Regions from separate parts of the Homo sapiens genome. Here region 2 is linked to region 1. Evidence: promoter capture Hi-C in 16 types of primary human blood cells and fetal thymus (Javierre and others, 2016). All regions are on one chromosome and are shown on one strand. Each heading gives the region's core, a stretch centred on a gene start or on the middle of the fragment in contact. The rest is flanking DNA. Distances are from core to core; before and after follow the strand shown.

Region 1 (7,562 bases), core at 1,930-4,429:
AGCTGGTACGGGTTGAACGTTCCTAATATGAATATTTGAAATCCAAAATGCTCCAAAATCCAAAACTTTTTGAGCACCAACTTGACACCACAAGTAGAAAATTCCACACCTGACCTTATGTGACAGGTCACAGTCACAACTTCATTTCATGCATAAAACTATTAAAAATGTATAAAATTAGCTTCAGGCTGTGTGTATAAGCTGTATATGAAACAATAAATGAATTTTGTGTTTAGAGTTACCCAACTCTAAACAAGATACCTCATGTATATACAAATATTCCAATTTTTTTTTTAATCTAAAAGTCCAAAACATAGTTCCAAGCATTGCAGGTAAGGGATACTCAACCTGCAGAGCTCTGTAGCCAGACTGCCTGGGTTCAAATCATGGATTCTGCCACACAGCCAGGAGAGTACAGTACTAATCTCTGTGTGCTTCAATTTCCTCATCATAAAATAAGGATAATAAAAGTACTCAGCTCACGAGTTAAAGATTAGAAGAGTTAATATAGAAAGAACATAAAGCATTGTCTGGCACACAGCAGGATGGAGACTGTGATTAGAGTTGGTGATCAGCTTTCTGTGTTATCTTAAGTAGGTATTTAACCTCTCTGAGCTTCAGCTTCTTTGCTGAGTTGTAAAATATCTACCTGATAGGATTATCAGGAAGTCAAAAGGAAATATATGTAATGAACCTAGTATAGTACTCAATAAATATTAGATTTTTTTCCATGGCCTCCCAACATCTGGAGTCATCCGTTACATTAGACATACCTCAGTCATAGCATATTACTCTTGCACTTTACACCTGGTCATTCAGGTTGATCTCAATGAAATGATCACCCAACGAGTCTCATGTCTGAAACTGGATCTTCATCTAGGTTTCAAAAAGATAAAAAGAACAAAATCTTGAAATGTTCAACCTCCTAGTAAGAATGGTCTTGTGTTACTCCCAGAGCAGGCATCCAAGGTACTGGTAATCACAGATAAAGCAGGCACAACTGAAATAACTGCTAATGGCCTTCCCAGCTCACCATCATATGCCTCTTCCCTTCTCTTCTCTCTCCTTCTTATCTTTCCTCTCCCTACCTTGTTAAGACATTTAGCTGGGTATCCAAATCTATCATCATCTATCATCAATTCTGACTTCTGGCTCCACAGGTAGGATATTCTCATTTGCAAGGATACTAAAATGAAGCATCCTCAGACAAACTACCACTGATCACAAAAGCAAACACAGGAACAAAACTACTCCTCATTTGCACCTGTGACCAAGCCCTCCTTTTCAGAGGACCATTCTGTGAAATAAACGGGCCAATAGTTTGCAGCAGCCTTTTCCCCACTACAGGCTGTGACAGGACAAAGGTCTGGAACTTTAAAGTCACAGGAAGAGACCAAATGCTTTCTAGGGCCAAAACAGAAGCTACAGCTTTAATTACTGTCATAACACACTTAAAATAAGATTGTTGGGGGTAGGAGTCGGGGGGTAGGAGTCGGAGGGTAGGAGTTGATTTGTACATGGCATAGTAAGCCAAGCATAGAAAAGCAAAAACATAATTGCATCTTCTGGCACTTTCTAGGTTTCCCGAGTCTTTCAGCCAAATTGCCCTTTATAGGTCTGAAGCCCCTTGTAACATGCTCCATATCTTAAAATTTAATTATTTTTTTCACCATTTGGGGTGGGGGAGGGGAGCTGACAATAAACCATGGCCAATAACTGTTCCTTCTCAACTGAATCACACCAAAATCTGTAAGCATCTTCAAAAGTATATACTTCAAATTACTGCAATAAATGAACATGTAACCCTTTCGAAGTCTCTATTCCTTATTAAATGCAAAAGCTCTATTCTAAAAATATTGCAACTTGCTGTTTAATGTTCCTAAGAAAGAGCTGAACTTACCCCAAATAGGAAAGAGTTAAAATGGAATGTCATCTCAACCAAATCATTCTGTCTCAGGAGAGGTGACATGAAGGGGCAGAACCTTGCTTTGAAGCAAAAGCTGTAGGGAAAACTCCAAGTCAGCCACCTCTTCCCCAAAAGGCGGGGCAGGGGAGGCCAGAGTCTACTTGGCAATATTTAAAGTACAAAACTCATGCAGAGGCTTGAAACCAATATGGGTAATGCCTGCACAGAGTTTAATATATTATACATATATTTTTGAGACAGAGTCTCGCTCCGTCACCCAGGCTGGAGTGCAGTGGCGCGATCTCGGCTCACAGCAACCTCCGCCTCCCGAGTTCAAGCGATTCTGCTGCCTCACCCGCCCGAGTAGCTGGGATTACAGGCGCACACCACCATGCCCAGCTAATTTTTGTATTTTTAGTAGAGACGTGGTTTCATCATGTTGGCCAGGGTGGTCTCGAACTCCTGACCTCAGGGGATCCGCCCACCTCGGCCTCCCAAAGTGCTGAGATTACAGGCGTAAGCCACTGCGCCCTGCCTGTTTAATATCATTGATTGAAAAACAAAGTGGCAGTAAAAAAGGAAACTCTGATTGGTCTCTCTGTTACAGGTGACTTAGCCTTCTGGCATTTTTCACCTTGAAAAACTCCTATTAGGCCCTGTATAAAGTCAGAGGTCTCCTGAATCCGGAATGAGGTTAATAAACTGGAGAAAGAGATACTCACCTGTGCTATTCGCCTAACCGCCCCCTTCTGCTCCGAGTCCTCACTCCCCAAACAACCTTCGCGGTTGTTTGACACAAAACTAGCGCTTCAGCCCGGGTCGATTTTGGGGGATGGAGTAATTACCTACAGCTTAAATCGAGTCTGTGCCCGACGTGATTCTAAGCTTTACTCTTACTGCCTCATTTAACCCTCACAACCACCTTGTAAGGCAAGAATTACCAGCTTTAGTATACAAATAAAGAATCGGAGGCGCTGAGACATTAAAGGAGAAGCCAAAGAACACAAAGCCTGGGGAGCTGGGACTGGAGGCAGTTTTGTCCGATCCCCAAACCCTTACGCAGGGATTTTTAATTGGCGCGACCCTGTCCCAGATGGCTCCTCCCCGACAAGGGTCAGTCTGACCACTTTTAGGCCCAGGTGAGGTCAAGTCCGGGGTACTCCGGGAAGGGGCTCACGCCGACGCCTCTGAGAGCCCCGAGAGCCACTCACCTTACTCAGTCGCCGGCCTCCCACCAGCAGCCAGCCGGGCCAGGTTAGGCTGGGATCAGCTACGTCAGGCCCCGCCTCCGCGACCGTTACCACCGCCGGGGGAGGGCGGCCAATCGAGCCCGAGCGCGTCGAGGGCCAGCCCCTCTTTGGCCTGCGAATGCCCCCAAACGATTCTCTCCAGCCTCTCCGGGAAGCTGGGTCCGCCCCGCTCCCTCCGGTTGGCTCACTACGGGGGGCGGGGCTTACCGCAAACGAAGGCGTCGGTGCGATGTGCTGGTCTCGGGCACGCTGGCGCTTCCAACGCACTCCTTGGGTGCCCTGTCACTTACATGGAGGCTTATTTGCCCGGAAGACGTCAGAAATACTTGTGGCCGTGGGTGAAAGTGAAGCCTGGGTTACCTGGCCACCAGAGACTGCCCTCTCTCTCGCCCCCTACCCCGCCGCGACTACGAGCCCTTGCTGGGGTACGGGTCAGCATGTTCTCGATGTTCCAGACCTGAATGACCACTGTAGCAGCTGACATTTGGAGGACCCCAATAAATATTTGTTGACGACAGTTCATCTTCCCATTCAGCATTTTCCACATCTCGACGAAGCGTCAGGCCCTACCTGAGGCTGTAGCTGTCCACCATTGTCATTGTATCTTATAGCCACATGGTGTCGCTGTTGACAACTTGTCTTTTCAAATCAGTCAAATGATGTAGGTCTGTGTTACAGTCAAATGTTGCAACAGACTGTGTTGCAGTCAAATGATGCAGGTCCCACAGTAGCCAACAGGGATGTCCCATCTAGGGCATCAGCCAAGGGTCTCTCATCAGGAGATCCAAGGGCTCTTGGAGCTCAATACTTTCAGACCCTTCTTAGCCTTCTTCCAGGCAGCTGGGACTACACTTAGGTTTGATCTCTGTGTTTGCCCCATGCAAACATGTCCCTACCCCAACCTACGCCTACCCACTGTGCTTTCCATACCTGGATATTCACTCTAACGACGGTTAGCAGATTGCATTTTCAGTTCTCAAAATGCAAATAGTCTCAGTGCTTCCCTTTTCCAAGATAATAGGGTGCCCTTGCATACTCTTCTGAGAATGGCTGCCCTAATTGTAGAGGCCAAACATCTTTGAGTCAGTTATTATTATTTTGGATGCACGTGATATAGAATCTGAGTTAAACTGTCTTCCTAAAAAATAAAGAAGTTGCTTATCTCGCATAACAGAAAGCTCAGAGGCAAGGGAGACTTTGATTAATTCAGTGGCTAAGCAAGTTAACAAGGACCCAGTTGCTATTAGTCTCTGCTTTGTTGTAAAAAAAAAAAAGGGTAGACTTCAAATTCATACTAACGTGATTTTCCAGATGTCTACTTGGAGAAATCAGGACCACATACTTTCTTTTTCATCTAAAACCTTTCCTTCTGGTTTTTTGAGCCAATAAGTTCACACAGGCACACACTCTTCCTCTTTACCAGTAACTGCCTGGGAAATGTACAGACAGCTTAAGCCTGGGTTCCAGAAGTGAAAAGGAGCTATGACAATTGGAATTGGCAATGGTGTCAGTGCTCTTTGAGTCACATGAGTTGCAAGGTGGAGACATGGCTATTTGAATAAAACTGGAGACCTGTAAAGGAGAAGAGGAAAATGGATGCTAGATGGATGATCACCAGTATCTTTCACAGTCTTCAAAGCACAAGAAGGCTGATTCCTCTCTATTTTCTAACTGAATTTTTTATGTGGTGAATGGAGGGGAAGAGTTGCTATAGCACTGCCCTCCAAAACAATTCCCTTCTTATGGACCATGAAAGCCTTTCCAGCACCTCTCTTTGCTAGAGAAGGAAAACATCCCTGCACACAAACTTAGTCTTTCACTGAGAATCCTGCTACATTGGTCTCAAGAGTTTTCTATGGGCCTCATCTACCCAATAGAATTCTAATAATTCTAAACATTCATTTAACATTCATTCATTTATAAAAATGTGTTGGCCGGGCACAGTGGCTCACGCCTGTAATCCCAGCACTTTGGGAGGCCAAGGTAGGTGGATCACCTGAGGTCAGGAGTTCGACAACAGCCTAGCCAACATGGGGAAACCCCATCTCTACTAAAAATACAAAATTGGCCGGGTGTGGTGGCACATGCCTGTAATCCCAGCTACTTAGGAGGCTGAGGCAGGAGAATCGCTTGAACCCGGGAGGCGGAGGTTGCGGTGAGCCGAGATCTCACCATTGCACTCTAGCCTGGGCAACAAGAGCAAAACTCCGTCTCAAAAAAAAAAAAATTTTTTTGTTAAGCACCTGTTTTGTACCAGGGATTGAACTAGATGCTGAGTCAGATTTATAAGTGGGGGAGTTTACAATAGTAAGTAAGCCCAGTTGTGATTCCTGCCTTCGTGGATCTTATAGTCTAACTGCGGAGAAAATATGAAACAAATGCAATTAAGTATATATTATTAATATAATAAGTGATATCAAAGAAGAGAAGAGGGGCTATGGAGGAAGCCTCTCTGATGAAGTGACACTTAAGTTGAAAGCCAAGCATGTCTTCATTTCGGCTTTCTGCTTTCCTCTGTACTTTGGCTTCCTAGCATAAATTATAACTTTCATTAGCAGTTAAAACACATCTTTTATTTCTCAACTTCTTTTTTTTTTTTTTGAGACGGGAGTCTCGCTCTTGCCCAGGCTATAGTGCAGTGGCGTGATCGTGGCTCACTGCAAGCTCCACCCCCCAGTTCACGCCATTCTCCTGCCTCAGCCTCCCGAGTAGCTGTGACTACAGGCGCCTGCCACCACGCCTGGCTAATTTTTTTTTTTTTTTGGTATTTTTAGGGGTTTCACTGTGTTAGCCAGGATGGTATCAATCTCTTGACCTTGTGATCCACCTGCTTCGGCCTCCCAAAGTGCTGGGATTACAGGCGTGAGCCACTGCACCCGGCCTAATTTCTCAACTTCTAAACTGATTCTCAAATTTTCTTCTGGGTATAGAACTGTCATATTTCTCCCTAGAAAAACATGAGTATATCATATGTAATGGTAATCATGATGAATTCTCAAAGATTCTTCAACTCATAAGTTTTTTAGACTTAGATTCCTTTATTACATGAATACATTTGTTTCTGCCTTTTCCACAAGAATTTGAACCCCTGGGAACATGAACCATGTCTTACTAAACTTCATCCTGCAGCTAGCATATTTCCTTGGTGCACAGTAGGTGCTAAACACAGCTTTGAACTGTAGCAGGACTAACCACAGACAAAACCTCTCAGACGCTGAGTTGTATAAGGAAGGGCTTTATTCAGCTGGGAGCATCAGCAAGCTACTGCCTTAAAATCCGAGCTCCCTGAGTGCACAATGTCTGTCCCTTTTAAGGGCTCACAACACTAAAGATTTCACATGAAAGGGTTGTGATTGATTTGAGCAAGCAGGGGGTATGTGACAGGGACTGCATGTACTGGTGGTCAGAGAGAAACAGAACAGGGCAGGGAGTTTCACAATGTTCTTCTATACAATGTCTGGAATCTATGAATAACATCGGTTTCTAAGTTATGAGTTGATTTTTAACTACTGGGTTTAGGCCAGGCAGGCCCAGGCCTGGTTTCGGGCCAGGCGCCGGGCTGCCTGTCTTTGGTTTTACTTCCTTGTTGTTTTTTCTTAAAACAGGTACTGAGTATAAAACAATATAAAATAATATGAGAGGGTCTTTCTCTTCTTTCAGAACTACATTGTTAAATTTGAGTCAAATTTATTCAGAGCATTCACCTTCAGTAGTCATTTTCCAATGTGAAGGACAATATGCAAACAGCTGAGGCAAATATATTAATGACAAATGCTCAATAATCCATACAGAATAACAATAGTTATGTTAATTGGGCACTTAAAATGTGCTAGGCTCCGAGCTAAGCACTTTCATTTTCTAACTTGTTGAATCTTCGCAACAACCTTAATATAAGTACTGTTATTATCTGTTTTACAAATGAGCAAGTTAGGAAATAGAAGCCAAAAAAATTTTGAAATGATTTGCCACGGTCACACACTAGTATATGGCAAAGCCAGGATCTGAACCTAGGCATTCAGGCTCCAAAGCCTATGTCATTAACCACTTGACCATACCACTTCTTGTGACAGACATCTGCTTTACCATCAGATTGGTATATGCATTTATTACAATTTGCAATTATTTACTGTGTATTAGTTATTGCTAATGTCTGTGTATTAGTTATCTATTGGTACATAAAAATTACCCTAAAACATAGCAGCTTAAAATAAACATTTATCATCACAATGTTTCTGTGGGTCAGGAATACAGTAGGGCTTAGCTGGATGGTCTGGACAAGATCTTTCATGGGGTTTCAGTCAACCTTTTGGTCTGGGCTACTGTCATCTCAAGGTTCAGGTGGGGCTAAAGGATTCACATTCAAACTCACTCATGCGGCTATTGGCAAGCCTCAGTTCATTCCTCCT
Region 2 (7,562 bases), core at 3,439-5,938, 520 kb after region 1:
GTCCTCCACCCACCCAGCGTCTTTTTAAGCACTTGTCATGTCCGGCTTTGATTGCTGTCCTAGATAGCCAGCTTCTAACCAGAGATCAAACCTCTTCGTTCATGCCAACGTGAACAGACATTAGACAACAGACCATTACTTGAAAATACATCTCTTCTCATCTTAGCATTTAGCCAGGGATCACTGGCAGAGTCTTTAAGGCTGTCTCTCCCGGCCCTGAGGGTCAGGCTGCTTGCCACCTCTGCAGCACTGTTCCTCTGCCCTTTAGGCTCTTTCTTCTCCTGCTCATCTGTCAGCCTGTGGCCATGTGACAGGCCATAGGAGATTTTCTAGCATTTTTCCTGTTCTTGTCTGTGCTGCCTGTAGGCTCCTCTTTATGGAAGCACCACCCAGATTGCTTCCCATCTTCCTCCCTCAAGCCTTTGCTAGTCATCACATCTAAGTGGGTAGGACCTGAGCTTTGAAGCCTGGGTTCTAATTAGAACTGGGTTCTAATCCTGTGTTGAGCACTCGCTAGCCTTGCAAGTGGTAAAACAGGGTAACCACATAATTTAGCATCTCAAGTAGAATCCTTTTGAGAGTGAATTTGACAGAGATAACAGGTATAAGCCAGTGCTGTCCTGGGCAGTGGGAATCTGCTCATCCTTCATTATGTACACAAAGGAGCAACAGCTTCCCCAGATAGGTTTTTTTGGGGGCAGGAGCTGGTTTGGTCTCATCTGGCTCATGGTTCCTTCCTAGTGTCCTGTGCTGGTCACTGGGGGCTATGAGCTGAGTGGGACTGGGCCCTTGCGCTCTTGTCCTTCGCTCCATGCAGTGGGGTCTGGCAGCGCCTGCCTAGGGCAGAGCAAGGTGGAGGAGGTGGGCTGAGAACCCAGCATGTGCGGCAGCCCCAGATGAGCTCCCAGGTGCCCCTTTCTGCTGATAGAGAAGGAGGTAGGAGGGACTGAGTGGAGGGGTGTGAGCTGGGTTAACAGATATGCCGCTTGAGTCTGGTTAAGGGAGACTGGTGCTGTAGCAAGAGACTGAGGCCCGGCAGATCCCAGAAGCTGGGGGGCTGCTGTGCCTGCCATGGGCCACTTCAGACCTTTGGCCTTTTCCTCTTGTAGGGGTCAGGTGAAAGCCAGACCAGCACTTTTTCCTGACATTAGGGGTCTGAACTGCTCCATCCCCCGCCTTCTAATGCAGTGGGGCTCCCTGGGTTTCCATCCTGGGCAGTGATATTCCCAAGGCCGAGGGCAGGCAGGGGGCTGGGCCCCAGTCTGGTTTCAACCTGCTCAGCATCTGGGGGCTGTGCCCAAGGCCCAGGGCTCACTCTGACCCCTACGTCTGGAAGCAGGGCAGAGCGAACCTGATCTCAGGGAGTTATCAATGGGAGAAGCAGCCACCCGAGATTGTGGGGGAGAGGGCAGTGGGACTAGCCGGCTTCTCCCAAGTCTTCAGTCGCTGTGAAAGCCTTCAGCCTGGGCCAGGAGGGGAGGTTCAGCACTCCTCCAGCAGCCCAGCCTGCTCTCTCTGCCAGGTGGCATTTAGATCTGAAGATAACCCTCAAGGGACTCTCAGTGATGGAGACACACCAGGGAGTGAAGTTGGGAGGATGAAATTTTACTTATTCCTGCTCCTCTCCAAGGGCAAGCCTTGTCCCACAGTGGCTGTTGCTGAACACACTGTGTCATCCCCATCTCCATGTCTTAGCAGTGGCCGGATACCATTTGCCTTAAATACGTTCCCTTTTCTGCCCATCAGTCAAGGCCCAACTCTAGGCCTGTCTTTCTGGGAGCTCTTTATGCCTTTCCCAGCCCAAAGCCTTTTTCTGCTTGGAATTCCTCCTGGAATGTGTGTCCAAATGATACAGCATTCGGGCCCATGGCTTGTGCACATCCCTTGCCATTCCATGAGGGTGTAGTTTCCATAGCCCCACAGGAGCCTCCCACAGCACCAAGATCCATACCCACAGCAGTGAGCAGGGACCAGACCCAGTGCTGACTGTGGCATATGGGAAGCCCCAGGATTAGAGGGGTCATGGGCAGAGCTGTGGGCTGGGCACATCCTCAAATGGGACCTCTCAGAGGTGCCTGTGCAACCTCAGGCCCCGTGCTTGGAGGGGCCAGATTGTTTTTATTCTGTTCAGCATTTGTCACTTGACCAGTTGGCTTATGGGGTTGGTAGCAAACACAGCCCCATCCTACCCAGTGCACTGAGGAATGAACCCACCCTGTCCCAGTTCTCCAGAGGGGCCATTTGTCCTCCTGGACCTGTGCTTGCAGTGCCTCTATTGTGGTATCAGTGGCATCAAGTTGGCCAGCTGCTCTGCCCTTGAGAAAAGGGTCAGATCACAGGGGTGAAGAGCAACCTTGGAGAGTGATGCTCTGGCTTTAGAGTTCAGGGTTTCTTGGTATAATTAAAGGAAATTAGTTTGCTCTGTATGGGTCAAATATAGGCATATTCTCATGATTGTCATGTTTCTTTCTCCCAGCATTTATCAGCTGCCGCTTATTCATTGCCTTGATTTTCTTCAAAAGACAACTATAATCATTCAAAAATTCCAAGTTGGGTCCAAAATGTCAAAGGTAGGTATTGGACTCTGCCATGTGCCAGGTCATATGCCTGAGTCTGTGTCCTTCAACAGGCTGTCCTTATGATGTTCAGCAGGGCTACAGCCAGGATGCAAATGAGCTCCCGGAGCTCCTCATCTAAGAGTGTGAGGAGTGCTAGGTGGAGGAGCTGCTCTTAGCGGGGCAGCCCAAGCATTTCTTAGCATAAGCACTTCTGGGCCACCTGGAGCTTAGACCATCTGTGTCCTGGTCTCTAGCCCCTCTCTTGCCACGGAAATGGTCTCCTGTACAGAGTGCTTCAAGTGTGAGGCAAGCAAGGAACCCTAGCCTGATCCATTCGGAGCACGACCTGCTCTCCAGGCCTCACTTTATATGACAGATGGTGGTGATGGACATGTTCATTTGAAAGGCCAGGGGGCATGGTGATTTTATTCTGCCTATATCTGCCATTATTTCTCCTGGGAATACCCCCAGAGTATGCCTACTTTCAATGCTAACACACCGCAGACTGATTAGAGGAATATTGTTGACTGCTTTTGGAAAAGAGGAAGAAAAGCACATTCCAGAGGATACATACCTCTCTTGATATCAAAGTTTTTCCTGTGAAGGTTACCTTGGTTAGATTTTGGTTGGAGAGTTGAAGACATTTCAGTCTACAATGTTGTAAAAGGCTTTAAAAAATCCTCTTGTGGTATGTTTCCAATTTAACACTGAAAAAATATTTCTATTGTGCCATATATAGTGTAACTTAAAACCTAATAAAAGCTCCAAATTAGGGTTGAGCAGAATGGTTTGAATTAAGTTCAGGTAGAGGCAAGGACACTGTATCTGTAGGCTGGGGCTGCTGGCTCTCAGGCCAAAAGGCAGGTTCACACTGGGAGACTGGATCTGCCAAGTCTAGAGAGGAATTGTCTCTTCTGCCAGATTCTGATGCTCTTGGCCCTTGGCCCACAGGACTTTGATGCTGTTGGCACCTGCCCCCGGCGCAGGAAGGGCCTGGCTGTTGCTGTTCATGTCATCTTGGTTGCTTTGCAGGTTTCTCACTGGGGCCGACTTTATTAGATTTGCTGGTTACGTTTTCACTTTCAGGAGGTGTCTTTCAGCTTTTGCCTAGCCACGAAGCTTCCTTTTGAGAAGCTGCTTGTGTTCTGGGCCCCCACCCATGCAGCGAATGAATGAGCGTTGAAGTTGAGTTTGGACGTGGTTGCTTCAGTATCCAGCGGTCCTTCCCTAGCAACACAGGCCATTTAGGAGCACCACCTAAGGCTTCTTCCCCTTCCTACAGGTATGAAGAATGGGCAGGGTTTCATTTCCTCTGCAAGCAGGCAGCGTGGCTGGACACTGTATTCTGGAGCCTGGGGTGTCATCATCCTCAGGCTGCAGAATCAGCAACACTGTTCCATCTCCTCCTGTTCAGCCACAGCAGCCTCCTGGCTTCCAGGGCCTCCTTGTCCCTTGGCTTCCTTACAGAAGCCCTCTGTGTACAGCTAGTCTCCCAGACCCCTGGGAAAAGTCTCCTTTGCTGAGGAGGGATTAGTAATGCTCTTCCTCCTCTTAAAGTCCTCTGCCATGATCAGTGATAGTATTTCTGCTCTGTTACACTGGCTGGAAACATTTGAACCTGAAAGCATTAAGTTCTTTTTTTCCTTTTTTTTTTTTGAGATAGGATCTCACTCTGTCACCCAGGCTGGAGTGCAGTGGCACGATCTCAACTCACTGCAACCTCCACTTCCTGGGCTCAAGTGATTCTCCCACCTCACCCTCCTAAGTAGCTGGAAATACAGGTGTGCATCACCATGCCCAGCTTGAATTTTTTTTGTAGAGATGAGGTTTTGCCATGTTGCCCAGGCTGGTCTCAAGCTCCTGAGCTCAAAGTGATCCTCCTGCCTTGGCCTTCCAAAGTGCTGGGATTACAGGTGTGAGCCACTGCGCCCAGCCTGAAAGCATTAAGCTCTGACAGATCTTCCCATAGTCTCTAAAAGGCAAGGAGGGGTTCTCCTGCTTGGGATCCTATGTTGTATTTAATTATTTAAAAGGATGTGGTCTTACCCCACCCATGTAAGAGGGATGGGGCAGAGTTCCCAGTGTTGAGGGAGAGGGACTGTCTGGGTTTTCCATCCCCTGTAGGGTTGAGAACTATCCTGGCCTCTAGCAAATAGCCTTCCTGACCATCTTAGAGCTGTGAACCTCCTTGGTGCTGCTGGGATTTTTCAGGCATCACAGCCAGAGACCTTCTGGAAAAGGCTGTTTAATCTTCACAGCAACCTAGTCACAAAGACATTCTCCCATTTCACAGAAGAGTAAACTGAGGTTCGGATGTAGGAAACTACAAAACTGGGGAATAGCTGAGCTAGAATCTGGCTAGAGTCCTCCCCATGTTTCCTGGAAATGTGTGACTGAGTCAGAGACCATATGCTGGGGTAGAAGGGGCTGTAGCAGGACCCCAGGGGGCCAGAATTTCACAGGGCTGAAGGCAGAGAGCAGGGATTTGGGGATGTGTTGTAGATAGAGGGATGGTGGTGGTTGGGCCAGTTAGCCTTGTGTACAGGTGCGAATTGAGGGGGGCAGTGAGACATCCCAAGGTAGACAGAGTCTCCCGTTATTGCTTATTTTGTATTTTTCTTCACAAGAAGCAGCCACAACTTTCACATCTCTGGATCTTAAGACCATCTCCCTGGGGCTCGCGGAGGAAACCTGTGAGGGCAGGACAGACCCCGGCTCCCACTAGATGGCACTGTTGCAGGACGTTTTCACCCCGGAGCTCTTCTCCGGGTGTGTGTGTGTGTGCACGCGTGAATACCTGAGCTGGACAGAGAGCGTGGGTGTGGTGTGCGTGTGTGTGTTGGGCAGCCCTGGGGTGGGTCTGGCAATGCCCTGGCCCACACTTTGTGCCTCCACTTCTCTGGAATTTTTCCTTAGGACAGAAGTTTCTGCTTCTGAGACATCTTCCAAGGCTTCTGTGGGTCCTGGGTTGTGGGCACCAGATGCCAGGGAGTTATGGAGTGACCAGGACAGGTCCAGCTTGCCTGATGGTCCAGACATCTGTGGGAGACGAGTGAGTCCTGAAATCCAGCCTCAGAGACACTGCAGAGCCCCAGCAGGCCCCACACCTGGGTGGGGCAGTATTGGAGGATCCTGATGAGGACAAGCTTTTAGGGTCTTGAATGTTTCTAATACAAATAGTTGTATTTATTTGTACTGGTTGATTGGTAGTAGCTACTGGAGTGCTCTGTAGAGAAAGCTTCTGAGGCTGGGTCTGTCTTAGAAGGAAAGAATGCTGTTGTCAACCAGTGATGTCTGCCAGAGGCTTGGGACAAGAGTAACACCCATGATATAGATTTCTTCCTTATGTAAGTGATAACTTATATATGAGGATGAACCAGTATGTCAGAGAATCCTAGATATTTAGGACGTTAGAAATTATCCAACTCTATCCAACTCACTCATTTATTTCATAACTGGAGACATTGAAGCACAAATAGGCAAAATGAGTTGCCCAAGCCCACCTGGGTAGTAGCAGAGAGAAGAGTAGAAGGCAGGTTCTTGACCACCTTCTGGACACACCCTGCCTGTGTCCTTCTGGACACACCCTGCCTCTCCAGTTGGTCCAGTTCCATGTTCAGACAATGTCCTAAATACCAGATTAACTTATTTTATCTGTTGTTTGGGAGTCTTTACACATGGTTGCCAAGAGAAAGCCTCAAGTGAAGAACTGTTTGTGTTTTTATTGTGTCCCCAGAAGATTCTGGCTAGGGCAGATTTGTAAGGCTGAAGCTTGGAGAATAAATCTTAAGAGAGAAGAAAGGAAAGAAACTGGGCTCTGGATATTTGGGAGAATACAAGAACAGAGACATGGAATAGATGTGGTTAAGGGTGGCAGCTCCAGTTAAGTCCAAAGAAGCAGGCTGAGCAGACCAGGAAGGTCTGGGTTAGAGGTAAGGAAGCCTTTCCTGAGGGTGCAGGGAGCTGCCTCTGGCATGGGCGGCCTCACAATCCCTTCTGCACAAGTGGACCCAGTGGGAACCTGCAGAGCCCTGCTGAGTAGAGGAGTTCTTAGGAGTTGGAGCCAGGAGCTGCAGGTTCCAGCTCATCTCACACAAAGTGTGTCATGGGCTGTGCCTGTGCTTCACTTTCCTTCCTGGTGCATGGGGTTAGCCACCTGCTACTGCATGATGCAGTGAGAGTCAAAGGAGATAACGGTGGTCAGTCTGTGTGGGAACAAAGAGTTGATTTAAAAGCAAGCATGGAGACTTCTCCTGAGGCCTCTGTGAAGCGAACCGTAAGCCCTGTTTAACAGTCTTTTTGTTTATAGATTGGACAGTGTGGACATGGGTGTGTACCATAAGAGGGAATAACATTGAATTACTGGAACTGTCCTGTTGGGAGTAGCGATGAGCTGCGTTAGGCACTCTATCTCCTTTCATTCTTCTAATAATCCAGTGACACATATAGTATTATTATCCCCATTTTCCAGAAGAAAAAGCTAAGGCTCAGAGAAGTCAAGTTGCATGTCCAAGAATATGCACTCAGTAGGTGGCAGAGCACTTACCCCACCTGCCTGCCGTCAGGGAGGCTGCCATCTGTAAATTAGTCTGAGGGAGGACTGGCATGAGGTCACCTTGTCCAGGACCTTGTACCCATTTCCAACTGTATGTATCATCTGGACTTACCACAGGTGTCTGTGGGTGAATAAAGACCTAAAGTTTACTTCTGGGTGGGTATCATCTGTGTGTGTTTATGCACCCATGCACCTTAGGAAAGGGTGGCCAAGGTAGAATCCAGAACAGGGAGAGAAATTGTATTAGGGCTCTCCAGAACAATAGCGTCAATAGAATGTGTGTGTGTGTGTGTGTGTGTGTGTCACACACAGTGATGTGCTGCGTAATGATGTTTCAGTCAATGGTGGACTGCATATAGGATGCTGGTCCCATAAGATTATAACGGAGGTGAAAGATTCCTATTGCCTAGTGATGCTGTAGCCATCATAATGTCGAAGCACAATGCATT

What was found. The method cuts DNA at HindIII sites, captures the fragments that hold promoters and counts their contacts. A CHiCAGO score of 5 or more calls a contact.
Region 2: a contact is called between a fragment that was not itself captured here and the fragment with the promoter of CEP70 in region 1, in 1 of 17 cell types (fetal thymus). The highest score is 7.6, in fetal thymus.

What each region holds. Positions count from the first base shown.
Region 1 is chr3:138,591,081-138,598,642 of GRCh38, forward strand. CEP70 (centrosomal protein 70) reads right to left here and starts at 3,180. Exons shown (of 18, transcript NM_024491.4): 1 at 3,118-3,180; 2 at 774-876. RefSeq lists an enhancer at 3,385-3,444. The HindIII fragment of the contact is 6,508 bases long and covers 2,790-7,562 here.
Region 2 is chr3:139,106,736-139,114,297 of GRCh38, forward strand. BPESC1 (blepharophimosis, epicanthus inversus and ptosis candidate 1) reads left to right here. Exons shown (of 3, transcript NR_026783.3): 2 at 2,477-2,570. Among named protein-coding and RNA genes, the nearest start is that of BPESC1, 6.3 kb to the left of the region's middle. The HindIII fragment of the contact is 2,027 bases long and covers 3,676-5,702 here.